5 separate regions of the Homo sapiens genome follow, and all the other regions are linked to region 3. Evidence: promoter capture Hi-C in human tissues and cell types (Jung and others, 2019). All regions are on one chromosome and are shown on one strand. Each heading gives the region's core, a stretch centred on a gene start or on the middle of the fragment in contact. The rest is flanking DNA. Distances are from core to core; before and after follow the strand shown.

Region 1 (2,700 bases), core at 51-2,550, 450 kb before region 3:
TTTCTGATCTAGTTTTCTTATTTACTAAAAATAGCAACTTCAGGAACATAACTGCATTTGTTCTTTAACAGTTCTTAAGATACTAGACACATCCTCACATTCTTAAAGAAGCAGCTTTTTGTTTTAATGATTTTCTCTATTGTTTTTCTGTTTTTCTTTTTCATTGGTTTCTGCTTTTATCTTTATTATTTACTTTCTTCTGCTTACTTTGTGTTTAATGTGCTCTTCTTTTACTAGTTTCTTAAAGGGAAAACTTAGATCATTGATTTGACTTTTTAAAAATAATTCACTAAGCAGTGAATTTTACTTTTAAGCTCTGTTGGACTTGAAGATCATTGATTTGAGATGTTTCTTTTTCCCTAGGTACTTCTTCAGTTGCATCCCCCCGAAGTTTGATACGCTGTGTTTTCATTTCCATTCAATTTCAAAATACTCCTGATTTCCTTTTGATTTCTTCTTTGAATAACTGGAATAAAAAGTGTGTTTACTCCAGTTATTTGGGGATTTCCCAGATACCTTCCTGTTATTGATTTCTAACTTAATTTCATTGTGGTCAAAGAACATATTTTGTATGATATGAATCCTTTTACATTTATCAATACTTGTTTTATGACTCAGTATATGTTCTGTCTTGATAATGCACCTTGTATCCTTGAAAAAGTATTGAAATATCCAGCTATAATTATCAACTTATTTTATTTCTCCCTTCAGGTTTTGCTTCATGTATTTTGAAGCCCTGTTGTTGGGTACATAAACATGGAGGATTGTTGCTTTTTGTTTTTTGAGATGAAGTCTCACTCTTGTCCCCCAGGCTGGAGGGCAGTAGCGCGATCTTGGCTCACTGCAACCTCCACCTCCTGGGTTCAAGTGATTCTCATGCCTCAGCCTCCCAGGTAGTTGGGATTACAGGCTCCTGCCACCACGCCCGGCTAATTTTTGCATTTTTAGTAGAGATGGGGTTTCACTATCTTGGCCAGGCTGGTCTTCAACTCCTGACCTCAGGTGATCCACCTGCCTCAGCCTCCCAAAGTGCTGGGATTACAGGCCTGAGCCACCGTGCCCCGCCAACATGGAGGATTGTTATATCCTCTTGATGAAGTGACTGTTTTATCAGTGTATGTCCCTTTTTATCCTTGGCAATATTCTTTGATCTAAAATCTACTTTGATAGTAATATAGCCACTCGAGCTTTCTTTTAAAGTATTAGTAGGGTATATCTTTTTTTATCCTTTTACTTTTAACTTAGCTATATCTTTATATTTAAAGTGAGCTTCTTATAGGCAGCATACCTAATCTTTTTCAAAAATTTTGTCCAATATTATAATCTATGCCTTTAATGGGGATATTTACACCTTTTACATTTAATGTGATTGATGATATTTACCACTTCACATATAGTATAAGAAACTAAGAAGAGTATACTCTCATTTCCTCCCCTCAACCTTTGCACTGTTGTCATCCATATTACCTCTATGTATATGTTATAAGCTCCACAACACACTGTTAATACCTTGGCTTTAAAAAGCCAACTAATTATCTTTAAAGAGATTTTAGAAATATAAAAAGGCATTTCACATGTATTCACCTACTTTTCCTTTTTGATGATCTTCATTCCTTTTTGTAGGTCCAGATATCCATCTGGTATCATTTTTCTTCTGTCTGAAGGATTTCCTTCAATGCAAATCTGCTGGTGAAAAACTTTTTTTTTTTTTTTTTTGGCTTCTTTATGTCTGAAAAAGTCTTGACTTCATCTTCATTTTTGTAAAATATTTTTTGCTGGGTATAGAATTCTAAGTTGACTTCTTTTTTTCTTTCGGCACTTTAAAAGTTTCTGCCTCCGCTGTCTTCAGGCTTACGTTGTTTCCAACAAAAAGCTTTTGTCATTCTTAGATTTGTTCCTCTGTACGTAATGTGCCATTTTTTTCTCTGGCTGCTTTTAAGGTTTTCTTTTTACCATTGCTTTTTAAACAATTTGATTGTTATGTGTTTTGGAGTAGATTTCTTCTTGTTTCTTGTGTTTAAGGTTTGTTGCACTTCTTGGATCCATGGATTTATAGTTATTATAAAATTTAGAAAAATTTCAACCATTATTTCTTAAAAATTTTTGTTCCCCTCCTCTCCCTTCTTTCCTTTGTTGGTTCCAACTACATGTACCAAATTGCCTGAAGCTGTCCCAGAGCTCACTAATGCTATATTTATTTCTTTTTCTGGCTTTTTTTTCTCCCTGTGTTTCATATTGGGTCATTTCTATTGCTACGTATTAAACGTCACTAATCTTTTCTTCTACAATGTCTAGTCTACTAATCCTGTTTGGTATGTATTTTTCATCTCAGGCATCAGAATCTTCAAAAATGGTCATTCAACTTTTTTTTGCTATCTTTTCCTTGCCTCTGCTTAATGTGCTCCATCTTTCTTCCACCTTTTGAACATAAGAAATACAGTGATAATAACTGTTTTAAAGTCCTCAGCTACTAACTGTATCATTTGTGTCATTTCTGTGTCTGTTTCTATTGATTTGTTTTTCTTTTTATTATGAGTTGTATTCTCTGTTTCTTTGCAGGTCTTGATTAGCTGCTAGGTATCATGAATTTTACCTTGTTGGGGGCTGAATATTTTTGTATTCTTGAGCTTTTTCTTGGGATGCAGTTCAGTTTCCTGGAAATAGCTGGATCCTTTTGAGTCTTGCTTTTACATTTTGTTA
Region 2 (2,700 bases), core at 72-2,571, 340 kb before region 3:
CCAGCCTGGACAACATGGCGAAAACCTGTCTCTACCAAAAATACAAACAATTAGCTGGGCATGGTGGTGCACACCTGTGGTTCCAGCTACTTGGGAGGCAGAGATGGGGGGATCACTAGAGCCCGGGAGGTGGAGGTTGCAGTGAGCCAAGATTGAGCCATTGCATTTCAGCCTAGGTGAGAGAGAGACCCCGTCTCAAAAAAACGGGGTCTCAAAAAAAGAAAAAAAGAAAAATAAAGAAAAAAGAATTATTTGGTCCAAAATGTCAATAATATCAAGGTTGAAAACTCTGATCTAGCCCAATCCCTACAGTGTATAAAGGAAGAAAATAAGATCCAAGACAATTAAATGACTTTTTCTTTTATTTTAGTAGGCAATACATTCAAAAGTTCCAAAAATAGAACATTAAAAGGGTATGTAGGATTTGAACAGATATTTCTCCAAAGAAGATATACAAATGGCCAATGAGCAAATGAAAAGATTCTCAGCATCATTAGTCATTAGGAAAATGCAAATCAAAACCACAATGAGATACTGCTTTATAGCCACTAGCATGGCTATAATTAAAACAACAACAAAAACGGAAAATAACAAATTGTTGGTGAGAACGTGGAGAAATTGGAACCTTCATACATTGCCGGTGGGAATATAAAATGGCGCAGCTGCTGTGGAAAAGTTTGGCAGTTCCTCAAAAAAAGTTCTGTGTAAAATTATGATATGACCCAGCAATTCCACACCCCTAGGTATATGTCCAAAGAAATTGAAAACAGGTATTCAAACAAATACTTGTACACAAATGCTCATAGCAGCAAAATTCACAGTAGCCAAAAGGTGGAAACAACCCAAATGTCCATTAACAGGTGCAGGGATAAACAAAATGTGGTATATACATACAGTGGAATCATACTCATACATTAAAAGGAATGAAGTACTACTACTACAACAAGCTACAATGTGGGTGAAGCTCAGAGACATTACACTTAGTGAAAGCCAGATATAAAAGGTCACATGTTGTTTCTATTTATATGAAATATCCAAAACAGGTAAATTTATAGAGATAGAAAGCAGACTGAGGGTTGCCATGGGCTAGGAGAGAAGGAAGATAGGGAGGAACTGCTTAATGACTACAGAGTTTTCTTTTAAAGTTGTGAAAATGGGCTGGGCACAGTGGCTCATGCCTGAAATCCCAGCACTCTGGGAGGCCGAGGCAGGCAGATCACTTGGGGTCGGGAGTTCAAGACCAGCCTGGCCAACATGGTGAAACCCCGTCTGTACTAAAAATACAAAAATTAGCTGGGTGTAGTGGCATGTGCCTATAATCCCAGCTACTCAGGAGGCTGAACCAGGAGAATCGCTTGAACCCAGGAGACGGAGGTTAGCAGTGAGCCGAGGCTGCACCACTGCACTCCAAACTGGGTGACAGGGCGAGACTCCATCCCAAAACAAACAAACAAATAAATGAACTTGCAAAAATGTTTTGGAATTATATAGAGGTGGTGGTTGCAATAACATTGTGAATGTACTATATGCCACTCAATTGTATACTTTGAAATGGTTAATATGTGAATTTCATAATTAAAAGTTTTTAAAAAATGCATAGTGAAACATCTCATCATTGTCTGCCCTCAGTGTAGTTCCCACTACACCCATAGGCAACCCGTGTTCTTAGTATCTTAGGAGCCCTCCAGTATACTTATGCACATACACAGAAATGGATAGCTTGTTATCCCCTTCTTTCTCTTTTTATACAGAGGCAGCATATTTTGCAAATTATTCGGTGCCTTGTCTTTCTCAGCAATTTATCATGGAGATCTTTCTGTGGCCTTGACACTCTTGAACATTGCAGGCCACTTTGTTCCTCAATGTGGTTTGTCTGATATTTCCTGATTACTAGATTCAGGTTATGTGGCTTTGGTAAGAATATCACAGAATGCATCTTTTCTTTGCATCTTATCATGTGGCACCTGATTTTGATTTTCCAGTTGCTAACGATAGTTGTTTGATCACTGGATTGTAATAAGATGGTGTCTACCAGTTACTATAGTGAAGAAGACTGAAAATAGCCAATGTTCGAAGGGATCCTGATTCCTTTAGTGGGAAGCAGTTTCTAGAAACTAAAACCTGAGCATTAAGTATGCTCATTATTATAGGTTGATTCCTTTGATTAGTGCCCTTGTAACAAATTTCCCTTCCTGCCATTGTCCCCTCCCCTGCATTTCTTCTTCATTCCATTCAGGTTCTGACACCGTGTGCCAGGTCATTCTGCATGGACATCCTCCTTGCTTCCTTTAGGCTCTGACACTCCACAGCAGGCCACCCTCTTCCCCGCAGTGTGGACACCCTCTTAACCCCACTCAGGCTCCAACACTCCCTGTCAGGCCACCCTCTGGGGATGCTTCATCCTACTTGGGCTCCAATGGCTGGTGCTGGGCTGCCCCTCGCCATGCGTGATCACCATCCTCACCTCCTCAGGCACCAACTTCCCATGTTTGCCTGCCCTCCTATGTAGATACCTTCCTCCTCCTGCTCAGGCTCTGACACCCCACACTGGCTGCTCTCTTATGTGGATGTTCTCCTCACTCCATTCAGACCACTGTGACTACCCCCATACCCCAGCACAGGTGCATACTTTGCTTACTCCATCTAATGGTTTTAAAACCACATCTTCAGGAAGGATAGAGGAACAACCTTGTACTAACT
Region 3 (2,700 bases), core at 45-2,544:
TTGGCCTGGGTTGAGTATATTGTTGGAGAGTGTCAAAACACTCCCCAGGTGATTCTGACATTAGCCGGGGCCCGGAACCACCCCCGACCTACTGAATCTGGGACTCCAGGAGAGGCCCAGCCACTAGTGGTTTAACAAGCCCCTTGGGTCAAGTTTGAAAACCAGGGGTCTGGGCTGCTAAGTGGCGGCATGGGAATGGAAGGTTCTGGAAGGTGAGCAGTGAGGTTGGGGCGCAGGCCTGGGAAGGGAGAGGCTCTTCAACAGCCATCCCCCCCAACCTTGTCTCAGCCTAGGGCAATGGGCAGGCTCTCCCATCAGAGCCTGGCCTGAGCCCTCAGAGGCAGGACCTCCTTGAGGGATGTGGAGGTGTGAAGACCAGTTCTGAGACCACAGAGGCTCCCTTCAAGCCTCAGTCTCTGACCCTGCGGGCATTATTTCCATGACTTCCAGTGTTGTGGCTCCTTATCCTTTCCCCACAGGCTCGCCCCCCAACTGAGGGCTGGCTTTTTTATTTTTTTGAGACGGAGTTTCGCTGGTTGCCCAGGTTGGAGTGCAATGGGGCGATCTCAGCTCACTGCAACCTCTGCCTCCCAGGTTCAAGCGATTCTCTCGCCTCAGCCTGCCAAGTAGCTGGGATTATAGGGACCCACCACCACACCTGGCTGTTTTTGTTGTTGTTGTTTTGGTATTTTTAGTACAGACGGGGATTCGCCGTGTTGGCCAGGCTGGTCTCGAACTCCTGACCTTAGGTGATCCATCCGCCTTGGCCTCCCAAAGTGCTCAGATTACAGGCGTGAGCCAGCACGCCCGGCCGAGGGCTGGCTTTTAAAACACCGAAAACCCAGACAGGAACGGTGTCCATCTCCAACCCCAGACGGAAACTGTGCCCGCACCCACAAGAAAAGCAGTCCTTTGCCCAGAGCAACCAAACCCTGAACCCCACTCTCGATTCCCCTCTGCCCCCCAACTCTTCCATCCCAGCGGATGGGAAACAGCGAGTCCAGCCGCCTCCCCACCTCGGGACCCCCCTCCCGGGCCAACTGCGCAGGGCACGACCCCGTCGTGGTGCCCCGCGCGCTCGACCCCCAGGGGTTGAGGTGAGGAGGGATCCCCGGTGTCCCGGGAAGCGCGGCGGCTTCTGCGGGTTGCGGGCGGACCCCCCTCCCCGTGGGGAGGGGCTGCGGCCGCGCGGAGTCGCCGCGGGTCGGAGGCTCCTCCCCGGGGTGGCCGCGCAGGAAGCGGGGCGGGTGGGGGCGGTGCGGGGCGCGCACGGGGCCGGGGCGGCGGGGGAGGCGCGGGCCTGGGCGGCCAGCCCCGGCGCACAGCCGCGGCCGGGGCGCGCGGCGCGGGGCGGAAAAGCCTGTTTACACAGACTGCACACCGCCTGGGGAATAATGCAGTAAAGGAAGTGAGCCGGCTCGGCCTGACTGCTCCAACTTCCTGCTCTCACACACACCAGAGGGGAAAAAAAAAGAGGAGCGAGAGAAAGAAAAAAAGGGGGAAAAATCAGGATCTCATTACAAGAGCCACAGACCGTCTGCAGACGCCTGTCAGCATGGAAAGTCGGGGGCTTTCGCCCGGGTCCTCCTAGAAATTCCCCCCGAAGAAGACTCCCCCACATCTGGGTAGGTAACAGGGCTTCTGCCTGTTGCTCGGACACTTAAAAAGTTTGTTTGGGGGTGTTTTCTTTTTTTCTTTCTTTTCTTGGGCGCGGTGGGGGTGGGGCGGGGGGCGCCGCGGGGTGGGCTGCGGGCCGGGGTGGGGGTGGCGGTGCGTCCGCGCGGGAGGGCCGGCCGCGGGGAGGGGGCGCCGCGGATGCTCCTGCGCCCGCGTCGCTGCCACCGCCGTCGCCCGAGCTCGCGCCGGGCCCGGGGCTGCGGGGACCCTGCGCCCGCGGCTCCCCTCCCTGGGGCTGCGCTGCGACCCCAGAGGAAGGGGCGCCGGGCGTGCAACCCTGGGAGCTCGCCCAGGGCCCCGCTGCAGGCAGCGCGGGGAGCGGGGGACGGCGAGACTTCGGGTCCCTGGGAAGAACCGTGGCAGGAGCAGGCTGAGTGCCTGGAGGCTGGACCACCGCCGACCTTCCAGCTGGGACCGCAGTCAGGCTCCCCTCGAGTGGGCAAAGTGCACTGGTGCTCGGATCCAGGGAGGAAGACAGGGATGGAGAGGGCGGTGGAGGACATGGGTCGCGAAGGTGTGGGGCTGGGGGCTGCGTCCACTCTCGCTTGGCAGGTGACCCCCGCCCAGGTCACCGCCCCAGGCGCACGCCCCATCGGACATTTAAAAGCCGGTGGTCTCTATTGGGCATGGTTTTGGAGAAGGACCAGGCAAGAAATGATCTTGGGGCCCCTTCCACTCCCCATCCCTGTTTACCTTCGAACTCAACGTTGGCCTGTGACGCTACTGTAACTTTTGGGGAGGCGGGATTAAGATTTTGGAGTAGTTAAAAAGCAAAAATAAAAGGTCTTGGTTTTGTTATCTTTTCTGAACCGAATCATCCTAGGGACAAGCTGCAGTTAGGCGGCGGGTGGAGGTGGAAGCAAGAAATGTTATTTCAGAAACTGCAAAAGGGGCTTTTTAGAAAGAAAAAAAAACGAGTGTCGGGAGAGTTTCTGGCTTGTCTGGAAACGGCAAGACTAATTGCCATGCGCTTCCGCTTTGAAACTGGCAGCAGACAGCATCTTGAAAATGACTCACTAGAGG
Region 4 (2,700 bases), core at 115-2,614, 370 kb after region 3:
GCATGTGCCAACATGCCCGGCTAATTTTTGTACTCTTAGTGGAAATGGGGTTTCACCATGTTGGCCAGGCTGGTTTTGAACTCCTGACCTCAAGTGATCTGCCTGCCTCGGCCTCCCAAAGTGCTGGGATTACAGGTGTGAGCCACTGCGCCTGACCACAAGTTCTTTTTGATATCTCCAATTCTAACACTAAAAGGTTTCTCCTCACCTTCTCCATTTTTGTATTTTCCTTCTCCCATATTGAGCATTCTGGTTCGTAACAACATCAATGTAATTACTCATTTGTTTTATCCTGGCAAATTAACAAATTACTTTCAAAATTATTAAACCAATACCACTATTAAAAACCTACTAAGTAAATTAAGGATTTCTTTGCAGTTCATTTTGTCTCTAGAAAATGTCATACATCAGAGAACTGTGTCCAAATTTACTTGAATTCTATTTTTAATTTTTTTTTCAATTTGATACATACTTGTGACCCTTTTTTTGTATTTGCATTCTTTTTTTTTTTTTTTTTTAAGACAGTCTCCCTCTGTCACCTAGGCTGGAGTGCAGTGACGTTATCTCAGCTCACTGGAACCTCTGCCTCCGAGGTTCAAGTGATTCTCCTGCCTCAGCCTCTCAAGTAGCTGGGACTACAGGCATGTGCCACCACACCTGGCTAATTTTTGTATTTTTTTTAGTAGAGATGGGGTTTTGCCATGTTGGCCAGGCTGGTCTCGGAACTCCTGACCTCAAACGATCTGCCCACCTTGGCTTCCCAAAGTGCTGGGATTACAGGTGTGAGCCACTATGCCCTGCCTGTATTCTGTTTATATAAAATTTCCTTTTTTCCCCATCCTTTTATTTTTTTATACTCTTCATCTTTTTACATTTTATTTTAAACATTTACATAGTTTCAAAAACTACTTCTCCTATGACCTGCTGGGTGTAGAGGGAAGCAAGTAATAATTAAAATATCTCTGTGTCATCATGTATAAATTGAAAATTTGATAAAGTTTTTTCTAATACATAAATGAATTACTTAGCATAATAATCTTGAACATGTTTTGGGCTGAAAATATTTGGTTTAGAAATATGTTTCAAAATGTAAATAGAATTTTTGTGTCAGGTTTTAAGAAACTAGCCCATGATTCTCACATAGTAACTGTATTATTTCCTTTAGTGGAGGATTAGAGTTTTTTTTTAAACTCATGGAGTTCCTAATACCTCGTTCTCTAATTGTCATCCATAAATCTTTGAAGACCAAATGAGTTTTGATCATAGACCACTTAAAGATATTGATGCAAGACTTGAGTTCAGATGTAAATGGAATTAGTTATTATTTCCTTGCAATATCTCTGGGTTTCCTTGAATTTTTTCTTGGCTTTATTGAATTGCCATCCTAGCACAGCTGATCACTTTGTTCCCCTACCTTGTCTTTCTTTAGCATGCTGTTGCCAGACTGATGTTCCCTACATTAGCATTCTTATTCAATAATGGTTGCCTGTTGATGTCCATGACATAAATATGATGCATCTGTATTTGGCATTCAGAATTTTTTTGCAGTCTCATCCTTCTTATCTCCAACGATTATAATCAGGAAAGCTTAATTAGCATTTATAATATCCTTGGTATTGAGAGAATGATGCACTATTTTCTGCTCTGCATTGCTATCTCCATGCAGATGTTTCCTTACCCTTTGCCACTGCAGATGCCTTCTATTCTTCAATGGTGTATGTTAACATCTTTTCACGAATCAATTACTATCACATGGTGGCTCATGTGCATTAGCACAAATAATTAAAACTCAGTAAAAGGGGTTTATTGTAAGGTTACTATAGCTACCCTCGCATATCTCCAAGGACCAAAATACTACCAGGTCTCTTAAGCACCAGACCTGAAAATCAAGAATCAGTGCTACAGTTTCCATCTCCCTGGGCTAGTATAGTTGTATATAGTTGTATCCTTTTTTCCCCTCATCCACATTCCTGTCTTTACTGAACCACCATGATGGTCAGTCCCAATTGTATACCAGTATCAACAACTGGCAAGTTCATGTTTTAGTTCAAAATCTTGAGACAGGCTCTGATTTCATCAGCCACAGCTGGAAGATAGTGGAGGTCTTCGTGTGTTACCCAGAGCTCTTAAAGGGACCTTGGATGAAACAGTTTTTCTAGAAGGGGTGTTGAGGACAGAGTTTGACAGCTTATTGGTATTGGTATCAGGACTTGCCATCTGTACTTCTGTGAAAAGGTAAAGTCAACAGAAGTAGGTTGGATTCTATCAATCCTCAGGATGACTTTATTCAAGATGAGATAGAAAATCAAATATTTTTATAATTTGGAATTTCTTCTGTCCTGAGGTATACTGTGGCAAATAAAAGAGGATTTGATAAAACTGCATTATAGTAGATTTATATGAATTTTTATCTATTAATGAAAAAAATGACATGACAGAGGAAGCAGTAGCTTTATGAATAGTTACTCCTTAGTATTTAAAAAATATTTCCTCTCTTGGATACATACTTAATTGTTATGACAGTCGTCTTCTTCTTCAGTTTTGCAGACTCCAACTGTTAGCAAAGATATTTCTACCAAGGGTCCGGAAAAGTTAAAACAATCTGGAAGCACTGATTGTTTTACAGGTAATTAAAATTGGGATAACTGGTATTTCCAAAAAATTTGGAAGATAGTTTTTAATCTCACCTTTTTGGTAAAA
Region 5 (2,700 bases), core at 93-2,592, 260 kb after region 3:
AATTTTAAGTGGTATAATTTTCTATGCATTATTCTGCAACATTATGTTTTGAGGTTTGTCCATGTTGATAGATCTCTCTTGTGTGTTTGTCTATTTATTGTTTTTCTGGAGTCCATATTATGAATACATTGATTTCAATGTTAAGATTAAGTTTGGCCAAAGATGACTGAAAAAAACAAAATAACAGTGTTGATAAGAAAATTTTCTCTCTCTTGTGTGTATGTCTAAAGATGGTTTTCTTTTCTTTGTTTTTTTTTTTTTTTTTTTTTTTTTTTTTTTTTGAGCTGGAGTCTAGCTCTGTCGCTCAGGCTGGAGTGCAGTGGTGCGATCTCAGATCTCGGCTCACTGCAACCTCCGCCTCCCAGGTTAAAGTGATTCTCCTGCCTCAGCCTCCCAAGTAGCTGGGATTACAGGCATTTGCCACCACACCTGGCTAATTTTTGTATTTTTAGTAGAGACGGGGTTTCTCCATGTTGGCCGGGCTGGTCCTGAACTTCTGGCCTCAAGTGATCTGTCCGCTTCAGGCTCCCGAAGTGGTGGGATTACAGGTGTGAGCCACCATGCCTGGCCTAAAGATGGTTTTCCAGGGATGGTATGGAGTGTCCTAAGTTTAGGGACCCTAGCTTCCTCAATCTTGTTACTCCACTGTGCATAGGCCTTTATGTACAAAGTCACCTCAAAATTCAAGGTGGTCATTCCACCTCTAGTGAACACATCTGCATTACTACAGTACAAGGGAGAAAGGGAAGAAGCCTCATTCCCCCATTTTGCTTACACCAATTGGTGAAAACTTAATCACATTATCAGCTATAATTATCAGCTATAAAGGAGAGTGGGAAGAGGAATTTTCATTCTAAGTGACCACATGCCTCAAATTTGATTGTTCTATTACTGATGAAGAAGGGGAAGGGGAAGTTTAAGAAACAAGTCTCTACCACAATGGATGGACATCTAGGTAATTTCCAAATTTCTGCTTTTTTTTTTTTTTTTTTCCGAGACAGAGTCATGCTCTATGTGGCCAGGCTGGAGTGCAATGATGCGATCTTGGCTCACTGCAACCTCCGCCTCCCAGGTTCACGCCATTCTCCTGCCTCAGCCTCCTGAGTAACTGGGATTACAGGCGCCTGCCACCACGCCCGGCTAATTTTTGTATTTTTAGTACAGACAGGGTTTCACCATGTTGGTCAGGCTTGTCTCAAACTTCTGACCTCGTGATCCATTTGCCTCGGCCTCCCAAAGTGCTGGGATTACAGGTGTGAGCCATTGCGTCCCACCAAATTTCTGCTATTATAAGCAATGCTGTGACAAACATTCATACATATGTCTTCTTGTGTTCACGTAGGACAGTTTCTCTAGCAGAATATGTTTCTGGTAATTCATGTTTTTAACTGTGCCAGATATTGTAGATATTGTCAATTGTCAATTGCTCTCCAAAATGGGTTGTTCCTTTTTTTTTCTTTTTTTTTTGAGACAGGGTCTCCCTCTGTCACCCAGGCTGGAGTGCAGTGGTGTGATTATGGCTCACTGCAGCCTCGACTTCCTAGTCTCAAGTGATCCTCCTGCCTCAACTTGTTGTGTTGCTGGGACCACAGGCATGTACTACCATGCCTGGCTAATGTTTTTTGTTTTTTGTTTTTTGTTTTTTTTTGTAGAGATGAGGTCTCACTTTGTTGCCCAGGCTGGTGTACCAATTTTTACTCCAGCCGTATAAAAGTTCTTGTTTTCCCATATATTCCTAACACTTGGTATTAGAGTACTTTTTTTTAAGTAAGTTAAATTTTTTTTTACAATGTGATGGGATCGTGGGGTGGTGACGTTGGCAAAGGCAGTTTTGGTAGAGTGGTGGAAACTGATGCCAGAGTGCCTGGGTTGAAAGAGAGTGGGAGAAGGGGAAATGAAACTAGTGGGGTATCAGCTACCCTTTTACTAACCTTAGCCATAGAGGGAAGTGAGAGGTAAACCATTAGATGGAATTGGTGGAGCATTTGTGTTACGATTAGAATCCTGGGCTGCTGGGAGTAAGGCAGTAGAGAATGTACCAGAGAAAGAGAGAAAAAGGAATTAATAACTGGAGCAAATGTCTGTGGGGTTTACAATTTCAGAGGTGGGGCATTTCCAGGTGATGATGAAATGGACAGAGTGTGAGAGTTGCTAGCTGTTATGGAACAATAAAGAAGCTCCTTGAGCCCAAGATGCTTTTCATTTATTTATTTATTTATTTTTTAAAACACAAGGCCTAGTTCTCTACTGGAGTGCAGTGGTGCGATCAGAGCTTACTGCAGCCTCAAACTCCTGGGTTCAAGTGATCCCCCCACTTCAGCCTCCAGACTAGCAAGGACTATAGGTGCATGCTGCCATGCCTGGCTAATGATTTTATTTTTTGTAGAAATGGAGTCTCACTTTGTTGCCCAGGCTGGTCTCAAACTCCTGGGATGAAGTCATCCTCTCCCCTTGCCCTCCCAAAGTGTTGGGATTATAGGTATGAGCCACCACACCTGGCCCCAAGATGCTTTGAAGCTTCAAGGGAGTTAAGTAGAATTACTCATTCAACAAATATTTTCAAGCACCTCCTAAGTGTCAGGCATTGTTCTAGAAACTGGAGTTACATGTTGAGTAGAAGAGATAAACACCATTCTCTGTAACAAGAACTGACAGCAAATGTGTAAACAAACAAGAGAACTTTTTTTTATATATACAGAA

What was found. Contacts are between HindIII fragments. The study calls those that stand out against the background at their distance.
Region 1: a contact is called between a fragment that was not itself captured here and the fragment with the promoter of ELK3 in region 3, in 1 of the 25 tissues and cell types used here (heart left ventricle).
Region 2: a fragment that was not itself captured here is called in contact with the fragment with the promoter of ELK3 in region 3 in 1 of the 25 tissues and cell types used here (adrenal gland).
Region 4: a contact is called between a fragment that was not itself captured here and the fragment with the promoter of ELK3 in region 3, in 1 of the 25 tissues and cell types used here (mesendoderm cells).
Region 5: a contact is called between a fragment that was not itself captured here and the fragment with the promoter of ELK3 in region 3, in 1 of the 25 tissues and cell types used here (mesenchymal stem cells).

Annotation. Positions count from the first base shown.
Region 1 is chr12:95,743,136-95,745,835 of GRCh38, forward strand. The region is part of intron 2 of NTN4 (netrin 4); the gene reads right to left. Among named protein-coding and RNA genes, the nearest start is that of NTN4, 46 kb to the right of the region's middle. The HindIII fragment of the contact is 7,840 bases long and covers 1-2,700 here.
Region 2 is chr12:95,849,929-95,852,628 of GRCh38, forward strand. All of the region lies in intron 1 of SNRPF-DT (SNRPF divergent transcript), which reads right to left. Among named protein-coding and RNA genes, the nearest start is that of SNRPF-DT, 7.6 kb to the right of the region's middle. RefSeq lists enhancers at 163-307, 1,086-1,230 and cis regulatory regions at 235, 1,158. The HindIII fragment of the contact is 5,987 bases long and covers 1-2,700 here.
Region 3 is chr12:96,193,081-96,195,780 of GRCh38, forward strand. It overlaps ELK3 (ETS transcription factor ELK3), which reads left to right and starts at 1,295. Exons shown (of 5, transcript NM_005230.4): 1 at 1,295-1,625. RefSeq lists a silencer at 1,120-1,259 and an enhancer at 2,591-2,670. The HindIII fragment of the contact is 13,150 bases long and covers 1-2,700 here.
Region 4 is chr12:96,561,929-96,564,628 of GRCh38, forward strand. CFAP54 (cilia and flagella associated protein 54) reads left to right here. Exons shown (of 68, transcript NM_001306084.2): 18 at 2,540-2,626. Among named protein-coding and RNA genes, the nearest start is that of CFAP54, 74 kb to the left of the region's middle. The HindIII fragment of the contact is 4,172 bases long and covers 1-2,700 here.
Region 5 is chr12:96,454,877-96,457,576 of GRCh38, forward strand. No RefSeq gene overlaps it. Among named protein-coding and RNA genes, the nearest start is that of CFAP54, 33 kb to the right of the region's middle. The HindIII fragment of the contact is 6,305 bases long and covers 1-2,700 here.